Regions from separate parts of the Homo sapiens genome. Here regions 1, 2, 3 and 5 are each linked to region 4. The links are contacts of gene promoters, found by promoter capture Hi-C in human tissues and cell types (Jung and others, 2019). All regions are on one chromosome and are shown on one strand. Each heading gives the region's core, a stretch centred on a gene start or on the middle of the fragment in contact. The rest is flanking DNA. Distances are from core to core; before and after follow the strand shown. Region 1 has its middle 29 kb from the start of BRD3. Region 2 holds the start of CACFD1 (calcium channel flower domain containing 1). Region 3 overlaps SURF4 (surfeit 4). Region 4 holds the start of SARDH (sarcosine dehydrogenase). Region 5 holds the start of LOC100130548 (a long non-coding RNA gene).

Region 1 (2,992 bases), core at 67-2,566, 360 kb before region 4:
TTGACCTCAAGCGATCCACCCACCATGTCCTCCCAAAGTGTTGGGATTACAGGCGTGAGCCACCGCACCCGGCCATAATTAATACTTAAATATAGACTATTTAAAGCGCAGGCTGGGCACAGTGACTTACATCTGTAATCTTAGAGCTTTGGGAAGCTGAGACGGGAGGATTTCTTGAGCCCAGGAGTTTGAGGCTACAGTGAGCTATAATGGCACCGCTGCACTCCAGTCTGGGTAACAAAGTGCGACCCTGTTTGTAATCATAATAATAATGTGCACCATGTAACGTTGTGAAATGCTTACAACAGTCAAACAAATGAGCATGTCCATCGTCTCACATAGTTGCCCCCTCTGTGTGCGTGCTGAGAGCCCCTAAAATCTACTCTCAGTAAGTTTTCGGTATACAATACATTATTATTGATGACTATAGTCCTCACGCTGGACTTTAGATCTTTAGACTCATTCATCCTGTGTAACTTTAACTTTGTACCCTTTGGCCTCCATCTCAATCTCCACCACCTGCAAGCCCCTGTAACCACTGTTCTACTGTTTCTATGTATTTGACACCTTTTTTTTTTTTTTTTGAGATGGAGTCTCGCTCTGTTGCCCAGTCTAGAGTGCAGTGGCTCGATCTCGGCTCACTGCAACCACTGCCTCCCAGGTTCACCCCATCCTCCTGCCTCAGCCTCCCGAGTAGCTGGGACTACAGGCTCCCGCCACCATGCCCAGCTAATTTTTTTTTTTGAATTTTTAGTGGAGATGCCGTTTCACCTGTTAGCCAGGATGGTCTTGATCTCCTGATCTCGTGATCCGCCTGCCTCGGCCTCCCAAAATGCTGGGATTACAGGCGTGAACCACCGTGCCCGGCCGTATTTGACACTTTTAAAAAATATTTTGGCCAGGTGCTGTGGCTCATGCCTGTAATCCCAACACTTCGGAAGGCCGAGGCGGGTGGATCACTTGAGGTCAGGAGTTCAAGACCAGGCTGGCCAACGTGGTGAAACACTGTCTCTAGTAAAATACAAAAATTAGCCAGGCGTGGTGGCACGCACCTGTAATCCCAGCTACTCAAGAGGCTGAGGCAGGAGAGTCACTTGAACCCAGGAAGGGAGGTGGAGGTTGCAGTGAGCAAAGATACCACCACTGCACTGCACTCCAACCTGGGCAACAGAGTGAGGCTCCATCCCCACCCCCACCCGCAAAAAAAAATTTCATATATACATGAGATCATGCAGTACTTTTCCTTCTATGTTTGGCTTATTTCATTTAGCATAATGTCTTCAGGTTCATCTATGTTGTCGCATAGGCAGGATCTCCTTTTTTTTTGAGTCAGAGTTTCACTCTTGTTGCCCAGGCTAGAGTGCAATGGCATGATCTTGGCTCACTGCAGCCTCTGCCTCCTGGATTCAAGCGATTCTCCTGCCTCAGCCTCCTGAGTAGGTGGGATTACAGGCATCCGCAACCACGCCTGGCTAATTTTTTGTATTTTTAGTGGAGACAGGGTTTCTCCATGTTGGCCAGGCTGGTCTTGAACTCCTGGCCTCAGGTGATCTGCCCGCCTTGGCTTCCCAAAGTGCTGGGATTACAGGTGTGAGCCACCGTGCCCAGCCAGAATCTCCTTTTGAAGAGCTGGAAATATTCCATTGCATGTGTAGACCACAGTTTCCTTATCTAGGCCTCTGTCAGTGGACACTTAGGTGGATTCCATGCCTTGGCTATTGCGAATAGTGCCGCATTGAACATGGGAGTGCGGGTATCTCTATGAAGTGCTTATATTTCATCTCCTTTGGCTATATTCCCAGAAGAGAGATTGCTGGATCATATGGTGGTTCTACCTTTAGTTTTTTGAAGGGCCTCCATACTGTTTTCCATAATGATGGTACCGATCTACATACCCATCAACAGTGTACAAATGTACCTTTCACCACAGCCTTGCTCACATTTATCCCTTGTCTTTTGGTTACAGCCATCCTAACGTGTGAAGTGATATCTCATTGTGGTTTTAATTTGCTGCCATGGTCAGTTCGCACTGCTATTACAAAATATCTTAGACTGGGTACTTTATAAACAACAGAAACTGATTGCTCACAGTTCTGGAGGCTGGGTAGTCCAAGATCAAGGCACCAGCTAACTGAGGATCTGCTAAGTGTCCATTCCTCAGATGGCACCTTCTTTGTGCTCTCACATGGTGAAAGGGGTGAACAAGCTCTCTCATGCCTCTCTTACAAGGGCATTAATCCCCTTTAAGAGGGCAGAGTCCTTACGATCTGATCACCCCCAAAGGCCCTACTTTTTTTTTTGTATGGATGGACTCTCTCTCTGTCACCCAGGCTGGATTGCGATGGCACGATCTTGGCTCACTGCAACCTCCACCTCCCAGGCTCACGCAATTCTTCTTCTTCAGCCTCACAGGCAGCTGGGATTACAGGGGCGCACCACCACGCTTGGCTAATTTTTGTATTTTTAGTAGAGATGGGGTTTCAGCATATTGGCCAGGCTGGTCTCGAACTCCTGACTTCGTGACCTGCCCACCTTGGCCTCCCAAAGTGCTGGGAATACAGGCGTGAGCCACTGCACCCAGCCGGCCCCACTTCTTAATGCCATCGTCTTGGGGATTGGGTTTCAACCTATGAATTTTGGGGAAACACAAACATTCAGACCCTGGCGTTTGCATTTCTGCATTTCTGTCATCATTGGTGATGTTGGGCACCTTTTCATAGACCAGTTGGCCATTGTGTGTGTGTGTACACCTTTAGTCTTATTGTAACAAAGCAACTTGTACACATTTTCCTTTTTAATTTAGATATTGGGTCTCGCTTTGTCACCAAGGCTGGAGTGCAGTGGCACAATCATTGCTTACTGCAGCCTTGAGCTCCTGGGCTCAAGTGAACCTCCCAACCTCAGCCTCCTGAGTAGCTGGGACTACAGGCACATACCACCATACCTGGTTAGTTTTTTACATTTATTTTTTGCAGAGATGGGGTCTCACTAT
Region 2 (2,809 bases), core at 283-2,782, 280 kb after region 4:
CCTAATCTGCAGGGAAAACAGCTAACCAGACATGACAGGACTGGATCCAATGCCTAACTTCAAACCCACCAGTCTCTCCTACAAAGTCAAAAGCGTACTTGCCCTGAAGAGCAGTGACACAAACTCGGGGCCTTTTTGTGATTTGGGGGTAGGGCCTGCCCTACCGTATCCGTTGCCTCTGGATAAGGGCATGCCTAGCGAGGGCAGCACACTCCTAGCCCAGCACCCTCCTGCCTCAACCTCCCTCCACCCTCTACCCACCTGGAAAGGCTGTGGAACCCAAGGTGACCCTGAAAAGGTGGTCCTTCTGGCAGGATTGCTGATGGGGCCTGCCCTGCCCAGGCCCAGAGCTAGCCCTCTCTGCCAGGCAGGCACTGTTTAAAACCTGCAGACATCCTCGACAGACATTCTCTAAGACCTTGCCCACTCCAGTAATCCACAAGATTGAGGGCAGACAGGAAAGGAAAGGGTATCACTCAGACAGACTTGTCTTTCCCTGGAAGGCCAGCTGTACGGCTTCCATTCACTCCTGGAGCTGACCTGCCTCCCTCTTTGTCCTTTTCTGGCTGTGCTTAAGAGCCTAGCTTCCCTGGCAGCCTAAGGTCAGGGTCTGTGACTGGGATGCGTGCGGAGAAGGGGAGGAAGGCCGGTGACAGGCGGCTAAGGCAGCAGCAACGGGGGAGATATGAGAGCGGACAGAGGACCCAGGGAGAGGCCGGGCCCTCAGCTCACTGCCCCGCGGCCCCAGGGGCCACCTGTGCCCTGACACCACCTGACCCTCAGCAAACTTCCGCCCAGTGGCTTCCTGCCAGAAATCTAGCCAGCCGTGCACCCGCCTCCCTTACAAACAATCCTTGCCCAAAGGTTAGCAATGTGGCTGCCGTCACCTACGCCCAAGTCAACAGTTGACGCTTTAGTACGGGCCAGGTGGGCATGCGCCCCGTGAGCATCACCGAGAAAGTCTCACAAAAGCCCCTGGGGAGCGGGGGGAGGGCTCAGTCACGTGCCCCAGGCCGGTGCCCCACCCCCGCCCCCGCCGCCCCCCCGCCCTGGGGTTTCTGGTCCCTCCGGGAATGTTCCCAGAAGCGCCAGCCCAGCCCAGCCCGGGGTACCAAGGCGCCCAGGCCCGAGCGGGTAACCATGGCAACCCCAGGACGCCGGCTCCCGGCGGCCCCGCCATTCCTCCGCCCCGGGAGGCGCCCGGCAGACCCCCGACCCCCAGCGGGTCCTTTCCCCTGGGGCCGCCGGGGCGGGGCGGGGCAGGGCAGGGCGAGGAGCGCATGCGCGGCGGGGCCGGCCCCTCTCCCCGACTGGATACTCACAGACTGCCCCCAGCACCCCAGACAGGCGACACAGCCAGCGGTACCACCACGTCATGCCCTCTTCCTGCGCGGGCGGCGCAGAGCTGGCGGACGCCCCGGGCGCCCCACCTGAGCTGCTCATGGTGCCACCGTCAGGCGCAGCTCACAGCCCTCACAAAGGGCTCGGTAGCCGGCCGCGTCCGAGCCGGCGCGCTGCCTTGTGGGAGAGGGAGCATATTAGCATAGGGGGCGGGGCTTTCAGGCTGCGGCGAGGCGCGCCCGAAGGGAGGCGGGTGCTCATTAACATAGTGAGCGGGACCCTCATGCCGCGACTAGGGGCGTTTGAGGGGAGGTAGGTGCTCATTATTGTAGGGGGCGGGACCCGCAGGCTGCGGCGAGGAGCTGGGGGTGGGGAGCTCGTTAGCATACGGGGCGGGGCTCGCAGGCATCGGAGAGGTGTGCCCGAGGGGGGCGGGCGTCATTAGCGTAGGGGGCGGGGGCTCGCAGTTTGCGGCGACTTGCTCCCAAAGGAGGCGGGCGCTTATTAGCATAGGGGGCGGGGCCTGGAGGCGCGCAGACACCTTAGCGGTCAGAGCCTCACACCAGGACACACGGGTGGGGCTTCGCAGGGAGCTGGCTAATGCGCCATCCTCGGAGTGGAATCCTGATTGGATTTTCTTCCTGGATAGGAAGAAGATAACTAGGGACGTCCAGCGGCTTGCTCAGATCAAGATAGAGCCAACCGCGGCCAGCGAATCCCTGCCTTGCCATGGGATGGGTTTTCAAGCCAGGTCTGGACAGCTTATAAGAAAAAAACGCCGGTCAGCCTGCATGTTTTATTTATTGGTACCCGAGGAAATGGGGGCTGCTTTTCCAGAGTCCCCACCTCCAACCCCCTAGCCTTTTGGACATTGGAGAAGACTCTAAAGTAGATACCTAAGATTGGAAAAAGTTCGAATTGGAAAGCACTGAGACCAGGGGTCAACCCTCCAGGGCTGGCCAGACACGGAACAAATGTTCAATGACCCTCAGGTTCCTTCCTTTCCCTTCCAGGACTGAGGGTCCTGCATCTCCGGTACCCATGATTGGAGGGTCCAGTACTGGCCCCGCAGGCTGGCCTGAGCCTTCAGGAAGCCCTCGCTGAACTCCATCTCAGCCTGGCTGCTCTCTGACTCCCAGTAGAGCACCTGCTGCCCATGGAACGCTGTGGTCCTCAAGCTGTGGGTGTCCCGGATCTGAGAGAAAAGGGGCAGCCCAGAAGGACCGGCCACAAGTAATAATTAGCACTCACGGAAGCCTTCGTGTGCAAGGGCTCACAGATTCCGGATCACATTTAATGCTTACAAAGCCCTACTAGGAATACGCCATTACTCTACCCAGAAAACCGAGGTCCAGGGACGTTACATCACTTCCCCAAGGACACACAGTCAGGGTGCCAGAGCGGGGCCAGGCTGCCTCCTCTGGGGAAGCTGATACCCTGCAGAACACAGTTCTCCCAGGACACTTGA
Region 3 (3,204 bases), core at 568-3,067, 370 kb after region 4:
AGACAGATGCAGGCAAGTAAACAGGGTTCGAAGTCAAAATATGGCTTCTTGTGGACAGAATCTGACCAAGCCCAGGTGGGGCTTTGTTTCTCTTTATTCACATAGTACTTAAAGCTGCCAGACCAGGCTTTTACATGAAAATGACCTAATTTGAAGCCGATAGAGGATTACCATGGAAGTCACTGATCAGATAAAGTGACACATCCATTTTTTCACATCTTCAGAAAACAAGAGCAAAACTGAAGTGACAAGATTTGACCAGAAAGTGTGGGCTGCTGAAAGCAAGACCTAAGTAAGCTTAGTTTCCCAGGCCCAGTGTCTTCCAGTATTATGACAATGACATTAAGTCTTTCACTGGGCCGGGTCCATGATAGACATTCCTTTTGTGAACTTCTTGACTGTAGGAGGTTGGCCAGAGCGTCACCATCTTCAGATGGGCAGAGGGAGGTTGGCTGGCCGCACTGGCTTGTGGTGGCCTGGAGACTGAGTCCGCATCCTGTTACCCCAAAGGCTGGGTTCCTCACTGCTTGGTTGACTGATCTTTCCTTCTGGCCTGCAGAGGCTGGTCCACGGGGACGAGCAGTCTGGTTAGTTTCTGCTGGCAGGCTCCCCACAGTTGCATCTCTTGTCTCTCTGCCTCTGGCATCAAGCTGCTTGCTCTGGCAGCCAGGGACAGTGTCCTCTTGCTCCCAGGAGCCATGCTCTGTAGAAACTGCTGAGACGTGCTCTATGCAGGAGCTTGGCATTTGGAAGCCATGGGAAGGGTCCAGAAACTAATGAACTCAGCAATCCAAACTAATGTCCATGCCTGCAGCTGCTCCTCATTGCCTATTAGACACTCTGTAAAATGTAGCTTCTAAGCAGTTTATACCCATAAACAGCAATATTAGCACTTAATGGGTTCTGCCTGGTGGCTCATCACCAAGGTGACAGAAAAGCTGCATGGGGCCTTCCTCTCCAGTGTGACCTTTGGTGTTTTTAACCTGTCCTCAAGAGTGGCAGAGCTAGTCCTGGGCCCTAGGAGCTGGCCTCGGCCCTAGTTGAAGTGCTGGGGAAGCAAGGATAGGCCTGAGGACCCCTGAACTTGCAGGTGGCACAGGCACTGTGAGGGTCCCGATGAACACCATGCTGGTGACTGGTGTGGCAAAGTCCTGGTGACAGTGGCAGGCTCTGTCATACCCTGCCCTATATCATGAAGGAGTGGGGAGAGAAGGCAAAGAGGAGCTGACTCACTTTTCTTTGTGTGATGATCTTAACGGGAGGTTAAAACTCACTCTTCAGGGGAGTGCGGGCGAGGAGCAGAGGAGGTTGTGGTTAGCGGGGCTCCTCCCAGAACATGGGGCCCAGTCGTTCTCAGTTACGTCTTTCCTATAGTTGGGATTTTGATCACACAGTTTTTTAGTAAAGCCAGGCCATCATCTCCCACATTGGGCTGGCGACATCCTTTCTGGCCCTGCAGGGTGCAGTGTGAACCTATAGAGCAGCATGGGAGCGGGGCTCGGGGAAGTTCTGGAGCTGCAGTGAGCCAGTGAGCTCGAGCCAGCTCTGACAGGCTGATGTGAGGGAAGCCGCTGGGCCGCAGGTGCTTGTTTCTAGGATGTGTGGGACCTGAGTTGGGCTTTGAACAAGGCAGCCCCAGTCCTTGGTGATCAAGGAAATCTGACCTGCCTTTTTCGTCGATGTTCACATTCACCACGAATTTGCAAGCTGCTTTCCTCAATTTCTTTCTGTCCTGAGTGTGAAGAGAAAGTGGAGTTTTCTGTGTGGCGTGGGAGCTGCAGGTGGCTGTGACAGTGATCACTGGATGCCCAGGAAGTCATCTCAGGGTGGATATAATTAATTACGTTTCTAAAATCCCCTTCAGTCGTCTAAAATAACCACCCCTTTGAGAGAAATATCAGTCTTCCTGTTAAGCCCCTCAGATGCTGTCACTGCTTATGAACCATATCCTGCTTGATGGCGCGGTTCTCGGAGAGACTTAATGAGAAGCTTGGCCACAGAGGTGAGCTAACTGTCATCTTCTTCCTGCAGCCTGCCAGGTCAACAGCCACCTCTGGCTCTGCTGTCGCAGTTCTCTAATGGGGGGGAGGGGGACTGTCACAAGTTTTATGTGCTCGCCGTGTTTACACAGGTCACCTGTGTGCTGGCTACCAGCAATGGCCTTAGTGCCTGCAGTGCGGCTGCTCTTGTCTGTCCTGGGGTGCTGTGTGTCCTGCCTGTGTTGAGGGCTCTTCTCTGCTGTGCTGAGGGGACACTGGCTCTGGGACGTGTTCTAGAGTGGCATGACATGGTTCCAGTGGCCAAGTTGAAGTAGTTGTGACCAACATGCATGTAGGAAATAAGGTTAATGTTGGGCCTTGTCTTTAAACGTGGCTTTTTCAGTGTTCAGTCCAAACAGATGCTCATTAAATGGTGGCCAGTTTAGAGGAGACTGCATCAGCCTGACTTCAGCCTTCAGTGTGGACCAGGCTTGCCTTTGAAAACCAGGACAGCCAAGCAGTAGGTGTGCTCAGTTCAGAAGGCAGTACCTAGATTTTTGCATATTTTTCCCCAAAGCCAAGAGCTGTGTCTGTTTCGTCACCATGTTTGCGCAGGGAAGGAGGTGTGAATTGCCTGTCCCACCTTCTCTCTCTTTTTTGCTCTTTAATCCTCTTGACCCAGACACTCAAATTAAGAGTCGCAGACTCATTCAAAGAGACTTTTAAACACTGCCTCAATCTCGTGGGCTGTGCACGTAGATGAGCATGTTAAATGCAGGTCCTGCAACTGGGGGAGGCTTAGACCGCAGCCCATGGCTGGGCTGGTTTGCTCATCTCAGGCCAGTGAGTGGCTCACAGCTCTCATTTTAGAAGCAAGTCAGAACACCTCTGGTGTCTGTCTTGGGTATGGATTGCAGTCTACCTCTCTGCTGCTGTTGGGGTCCACGCCCCACACCCACACCCTGCCCTGGGAGTCCCACCACGGCTCCGTCTCATCTCAGAGGTCTGGACAGCCTCCTGTTGAGCTCTTCCTTCCCAGTGGTTGCTTTTCCCCAGGTTCAGATGAGATAAAGGCTTGTGTCCTTGCTGGGGCTTCCCAGCTGGGCCACGATGTGAGGCCATTCCTTGAGAGCAGTGGCACATCGTGTGCCACGGTGGTGTGCTTTCTCTCTTCCATGGAATATGGGTGATTACACTGTTGCTGGGCATTTAGAGAGCAACGGGG
Region 4 (2,844 bases), core at 217-2,716:
CTTCCTTGCCCTCTTGAGCTCATTCGTCACCCTGTTGGGTGAGCACAGCCCTAGCTCAGGCCACTGGGCAAGCCACACCATCCAAAGAGGAGGTCCTCTGCCCCAGGACCCCCACACCACCCCAGGTAAGCCTCAAACTGGCGGGGCCAGCTTTCCACTGGGCAGCCAGGGGCCTAAGCCAGTGGGCCCTTTGCCTTTGAGGCAGGGACTGAGAATGGTGTCAGCACGTGGTCAGGCCCAGAGCCCAGGCCCCCTCCTCTAAGAGGTCCTCCTGGATTCCCTGCTGGAAGGAAGCCAGCCTTGTGGTGTCGTGTCTCTCCCTGGATCTGTCTGCTTCGTGGACCCTGAGCCCCTCGAGGGCAGGGGCTGGGTCTTAGATGTCACTATAGGTTTCCCAGCAGTGCTTTGTACACATTGGGCATTCAGTAAATGTAGAGGATAGACAAGCTGGCAACAAGACAGTCGGACATCCTCGGTGTGAATAAGAACACAATGATTTGATTGGTATTAATTACAGCAGTTTACTATACGATCGCTTCCGGTATTGGCAGCTGGCATCATTACAATATTAACAGACTGCCATTGAAATGCCCCGTCTTTGATCCAGCGCGAGGAGGAGATGTGACTTTCCATCAGCACCTGTTCTGATTCTTTGGGCATCCAGAGGTGTATTCTTTCTGGGTTTCCTCCACACCCCTCCTCTGGGTGTCTACTTCTGTCTGGGAAGGGGTAACTTGCCCCAGCCCAGAGTCAGGCTGCAGCATCCGGTCTGCCTCCTCCACCAGCTTGCTGTGTGGCCCCCTCCCTGGGCACTGCTGTCCCCAACAGTCAATGGAGGCTGGAATCCCTGCCCTGGGGGCTACGTGCTGTGCAGTAGCCAGTGGCTTGGGGGCATCTCCCCAAACACCAGAGGGGTCTGGGAGCTCGGGAAAGCAGGACGCAGACAGACCAGGAGACCCTGTCCCTGGGAAGCTGACCCAGGCCTTCTCACTCGCCTCTGAAGGCAGTGAGCATCCTGTCCCTGGGGGTGAGCAAACTGGGGCATGTGCTGAGATGACCTCACCAAAGGAGCCTCCCTGCAGTGGACGGGCCCCTGGCCCAAGCTGCTGCTGACCCCACCTTTCCTGCCCACCCTGCCTGTGCATAGCTCCTTCTGGGCGCGGGGAGCTCGGGCGGCTCCAGCAGGCAGGTGGTGCCTGGGTCTACTGCAGCAACCCTGAGGCGCCTGTTTCAGAGACGAGGAAATGAGGGTTGGAGCGGAAGGGTGACTGCCAGGTCGCCTACGGGTAATGGGGCATGGGGTTCACAACCCTGCTCTGCCGCCCTCAGAGGGAGCTGCCCACAGGGCTGGCCTAGAAGCCCCAACTAAGCTGGCCTAGAAGCCGCAGTGGTGGGCGGTACGCTCCGCCCAGATCCTGGGCGGAGACATGGGGCTGGCAGCGAGGGTGGGGGGCGGGGGAGGCCTGGAGTTCCGGCCAGGCCACTGCTTGGGAAGCAAGAAGGTGAAGGCACCTCTGCTGGGCCAAGCACTCTTAGGGCCGAGGGGCACTGCAGCTGACAAGAGGTACTTGGAGGTACACCCCCAGGGAGGGACGAGGCTGGGGCCTCCCCTATGTGGGCGGGGCTGGGCCTGGTCAGATCTGGCTGGGATCTCCCTCTGCCTCTGGCTGCAGGGACCATCCAGCTGCATGAGCAGGACCAGGGTTCACCATATGGGCAGCTGCCTCCCCGCCCCCTGCCGCTCCTCCCCACAAGTCTGCCTACCCTCACCAGGCGAAGGTGCCAGGCGCTCTCCTCGCTTGACCCCCACCACCCCCTGAGCCTGGGAGGAGGAGGGCGTTCCTGGGTCCTCTGCTTTGCAGTGAGGTTAAGTTGTTGCTCGAGGCCCCAGTCCTGTGACAAAACCCCCACCCATCTGTCTGATCCCAAGCCCAGGGCTGTCCTCAGCCCTCACTCCTGGGAAGCTGACTCAGGTACGAGACAGAGTTGGAGGGGGCAAGAGAGTGGGTTAATGTGGAGGCAGCTGTTTCCAGGGAGGTGGCAGGCAGGAGGGGCTCTGGGCTGTCCCCGCTGGGGCCGCTGCCAGCCCCCAGTCTGACAGTCAGAAGAGCCCTGACTGACCAGGCAGGTGGTGAAGGGGCACGTGGCAGCCTCCGGCGCCAGCAGCTGTCGCTTTTTGGGCACAGTCGGAAGGAGGAGGGAGGCTTTTGCCCACAGCTGACCAGGTGTGCTGTGCCATGCGGCACCGTGGTGGGTGGTGGGTGGTGGGGTGGGGGTGTTCAGCCTTGGAGGGCCTTCCTCGGTGCCACTCAAGCTGGCTTTCCCCTGGTGGGGCACCACTTTTGGGGGCTCCTGGAAGACTGTGGACCTTCAAGGACTGAAGGTATGTACAGACACATGCAGGAGGCATGCCTCCTTGTCCGGGGCCACCTCTGCAGGCAGGAGCCAGGCGGGCTGACACACTGAGGGCTGAGAGGCTGAGGACAAGCTCCAACACCTCCTCACTCCCCTACGCCGCTGCAATCAGACTCCCTGCTCCCTCCCTTGGGATGGGGCACTGGGGCAGGAGATGGGGGGCAGCCCTGACCAGCCTGAGAGCTGGGATCCCCCTCACATCCCCCACTGTGCCTAGGACAGGGTTCTGGGCTTCGTCAGGGCTTGGGCAGTGCCCACAGTTCAGGTGGGACAGAGTGTGGCAGTGGGTCCTGAGTCCCCCTGGGATGGTCAGAAGAGGGGGCAGGAGAGAGTCCCTGGCACTGCCACATGGAGGCCCTATGACCCTGGTCACCTCAGGGAGCCTCTCCGTGTGTCAGACTCCCCCGCTGTGAAGTAGAGACATTATCA
Region 5 (2,945 bases), core at 149-2,648, 320 kb before region 4:
TCCAGGAGAGGAGAGGTGAGATCACCATGCCTCACCACCGAGGGTGGGGCAGTCGCCTGCCCGTGTGTGCCAGGGGCTTTTTATACTGCACCCCTCAGCCTTCCAGGTCTTGTTGGGGTTGGTGTGTTTCTGCCAGGTAGCGGAGCTGGAGGCAAACTGCACCCTCAGGGCCTGTAGTGACCACTGGCATTCAGTGAGCACATGCTGGCACCAGGTGCAGCCCCAGAGCTTTAACCACATTGGCCGGGATTTCCCTGGCAGCAGCAAGAGGGCTTCTGGGCTGGGCCTTGGACGGCTCTGCCGTGGCTCGTGGGCTGGTGCCAAGCAGAGCCTGGGGCGCCCCTCCTTCTGCCTTGCTCAAGCTCACAGTCCATGGCCGGGCGGGGCTGCCCTCCCCACCCAGGACGAGGCATGCACTCCGGTGTCCATGGCTGGAGCTGGGCTCCTTCTCAGTCTCCGGTTTGAAACAGTGGTCAGGTGGTTGGAAGTGGGTGGCTTAGAGGGCCTGATCTGGCCAGGCGTGGGATCCTGACGGCAGCATAAGCAGGCCCCCATGTTGAGCTGTGACCGTCCATCCTCATGCTTGGAGGAAGCTGGCCTGCAGCCTGGGAGCCTTCCTTTGTGCCCTGACCACCCCCACATCCCCAAAGGTCAGTTTCAGCCCCATTTCCTGGCTCTGGGCCTGTGCAGCAGCAGTGGATACTGGGAATGTCCCCACCTGACCGACACCTGGGAGCTGACATCTGGGCCCTGGGAGGCAGCAGCAGCACAGCCTGGGCCTTCTGTCAGGGTGCTGCCCGGCAGTCTCAGCGGAGCTGCGTGTGGTGCTTGGTGCCCATAACTGGCGTGAGCTCTCTCTGTGCCTGACTCCTCCACCCTCAGGAGCCTCGTGGGGAAGTGGAAGGACCAGGCCGTGTGGCTGGCCCCAGTGTCTGTGCTGCCTGGGGGCCCAGCAGGAAGGGTGTTCTGGGAGCTACCTGGAGGCCTTGGAAGGGCAGGAGCCTGCTGCTGTCCAGGCCTTGAGGGAGGGCCGCAAGTCACAGGAGACAGGACACAGGTCTCAGGACTCGGTCACCCCAGGCCCCACCAACCAGGGTGGGGCAGGACTCGCTTTCACTCTGAGTCACGTGGAGCCCCTGGGAGGTTTTGAGCAGACCGGTGACTTGATCCGACTTGGTTTTAACAGGATCACCCTGCGGTGCGGGCTAGGCGGTCCTTGCGGGGCAGAGCAGGGAGCCCTGCTGGGAGGGCTTCATGGAAATCCTTGCAAGTGGTGGTGGCGAGGGGCAGTGCTGCCACGCTTTGGCCTGGGGCTGCCCTCCGCACCAGGGTTGCAGCCTGGGGCTGTGAGCACCGGGTCGGTGAGGTGGAGAGGCACCCGCTCACCTCAGGAGGGCATAGAAGAGGGTGGGTGTGAGGGGCTTCCCTGGATGAGGCCCTGGCACAGGTGGGCGCCCCAGAGACGGGGCACGTTCTCTCGTGCTGGCATGCTTGGTGGGTGAGCTGTGTTGCGTGTAGTTTGAAGCCCTTTCCTCTCTGGGGTGGGGTGGGAGGAAGTGAGGTTACACGCAGGGTGCTGACGACATTGAGCATCCAGCTTGGGGAGGGGGTCCTGGTTTGCAGCATTTGCCCATGGCTGTGGTGTAACTGCCCACCGAGGCAGATTTCAGGGGACCAACCAGATGTCACCCAGCTCACAAACTTCCCCTAGTCTTGACTGTCTGCCCCGAGCGTCTACAAGTGGCCGGTTCTGGGGCCGGAGCCGGCTCCTCCCATGGCAGAGCTGCTGCCTGTGCTCCGAGGGGAGCCTCCAGCCGTGACCTGTCTAACTGTCAGTTACACGACTGCAGGAAAGGCCCAAGTGGCAGCAAGGTACGAGGCTGAAGTTGAAGTCCCAGGCGCTGGGTTAGAGCTCCTCGGGTCTGCCCCACACCTTTACAGGTAGACACGGGGCCACGCCGCAGGGCCCTGGCCATGGTTGGAGGCCTGCATGCGTTCTCCACTGTGCAGCGTTCCTATGGGCGTTCTCAACTGTCCGTGCCCTCCTGGGACACGCAGGGTGGCGGTGGCCTCCTCCTGCCAGCCCTGCCTGTGGCTAGCCAGTCGGGGCCAGGGAAGCCCCAGCATCTCGTGTGTGCAGAGCTCCCTGTGGTCAGCTGGGGTGTGGAGGTCGGCAGGGTCTGAGCCGCCGCTCCCGCCTCTCTGATTGGCCGAGAGCCAGGCCGGGTCACAACCACGCCGCCATCACAAACCTGGGCCCGTTCTCCTGGTTACGGTAGAACCTCACTGCTTGGCCTCGCTCAAGGGCACCACCTCCCCGCACCGTGTTTGGGTCTGCAAACGTCCGTGTTGTGCCGGCCCCACTTCCCCTGGCTGTGTTGGGCCCGCACCGTGGCTGTCCACGCATGGGTCACTCTTCAGTACATTGTTGTGGCCAAGCTGTCAGAGCCCAGTAGCAACGAGTCGACCCCACGAGTGGGTGGTTGGTGGGCAGAAGGCTGCCAGTGGCTGAGTCCCTTGGCACACCTGCCTCCCAGTGTGTTCCCCAAGCCCCCACCTGGGAGCAAGTGGCATGTGCCTGAGCTCCCTCCACCGCCCAGGCCTTCCCTCCCGTGCCTGAGAGCAGTGGTTGGAGAGTCGTTCTGAGCTGGTCGCGCTTCGCCTGAGCAGCTTTCCCGACAGCCTCTCACCTGGGTGGCTGGGCAATGGGGGTGAGTGAGTGGAGCAGGCCCTGCTGAGGCCCGACAGGTGCCCTCAGGAGCCCGCCGAGGCTGGGAGAGGTGGGGGTCCCCGGGGTGACTGGCCTTCCTCTCTGTTGTGCTTCCTCCTCTGCAGCTGTCGCCTGGTTGGGCCCGGAAATGGGACGTCGCGCTTTCTCAGGGAGCGTAGAAGCAGCCAGGGCCTCTCCAAGCCGCTGCTGTGACAGAAAGTGAGTGAGCTGCCGG

Evidence for each region. The method cuts DNA at HindIII sites, captures the fragments that hold promoters and counts their contacts. A contact is called where the count stands out against the background at its distance.
Region 1: a fragment that was not itself captured here is called in contact with the fragment with the promoter of SARDH in region 4 in 2 of the 25 tissues and cell types used here (lymphoblastoid cells and spleen).
Region 2: a contact is called between the fragment with the promoter of CACFD1 here and the fragment with the promoter of SARDH in region 4, in 6 of the 25 tissues and cell types used here (IMR-90 fibroblasts, heart left ventricle, mesenchymal stem cells and 3 more).
Region 3: a contact is called between a fragment that was not itself captured here and the fragment with the promoter of SARDH in region 4, in 8 of the 25 tissues and cell types used here (adrenal gland, bladder, dorsolateral prefrontal cortex and 5 more).
Region 5: a contact is called between a fragment that was not itself captured here and the fragment with the promoter of SARDH in region 4, in 1 of the 25 tissues and cell types used here (H1 embryonic stem cells).

Annotation. Positions count from the first base shown.
Region 1 is chr9:134,095,448-134,098,439 of GRCh38, reverse strand. No RefSeq gene overlaps it. Among named protein-coding and RNA genes, the nearest start is that of BRD3, 29 kb to the right of the region's middle. The HindIII fragment of the contact is 7,601 bases long and covers 1-2,992 here.
Region 2 is chr9:133,458,701-133,461,509 of GRCh38, reverse strand. CACFD1 (calcium channel flower domain containing 1) reads right to left here and starts at 1,532. Exons shown (of 5, transcript NM_017586.5): 1 at 1,323-1,532. The coding sequence starts at 1,443. It overlaps ADAMTS13 (ADAM metallopeptidase with thrombospondin type 1 motif 13), which reads right to left. Exons shown (of 29, transcript NM_139027.6): 29 at 2,124-2,536. The coding sequence ends at 2,330. RefSeq lists silencers at 1,017-1,316, 1,607-1,706, 1,717-1,936. The HindIII fragment of the contact is 20,945 bases long and covers 1-2,809 here.
Region 3 is chr9:133,369,674-133,372,877 of GRCh38, reverse strand. All of the region lies in intron 1 of SURF4 (surfeit 4), which reads left to right. Among named protein-coding and RNA genes, the nearest start is that of SURF4, 4.8 kb to the left of the region's middle. The HindIII fragment of the contact is 5,558 bases long and covers 1-3,204 here.
Region 4 is chr9:133,736,974-133,739,817 of GRCh38, reverse strand. SARDH (sarcosine dehydrogenase) reads left to right here and starts at 1,466. Exons shown (of 21, transcript NM_001134707.2): 1 at 1,466-1,564. The HindIII fragment of the contact is 19,009 bases long and covers 1-2,844 here.
Region 5 is chr9:134,053,481-134,056,425 of GRCh38, reverse strand. It overlaps BRD3 (bromodomain containing 3), which reads left to right. Exons shown (of 12, transcript NM_007371.4): 2 at 2,836-2,945. LOC100130548 (a long non-coding RNA gene) reads right to left here and starts at 2,136. Exons shown (of 3, transcript NR_135126.1): 1 at 1,934-2,136. The HindIII fragment of the contact is 7,733 bases long and covers 1-2,945 here.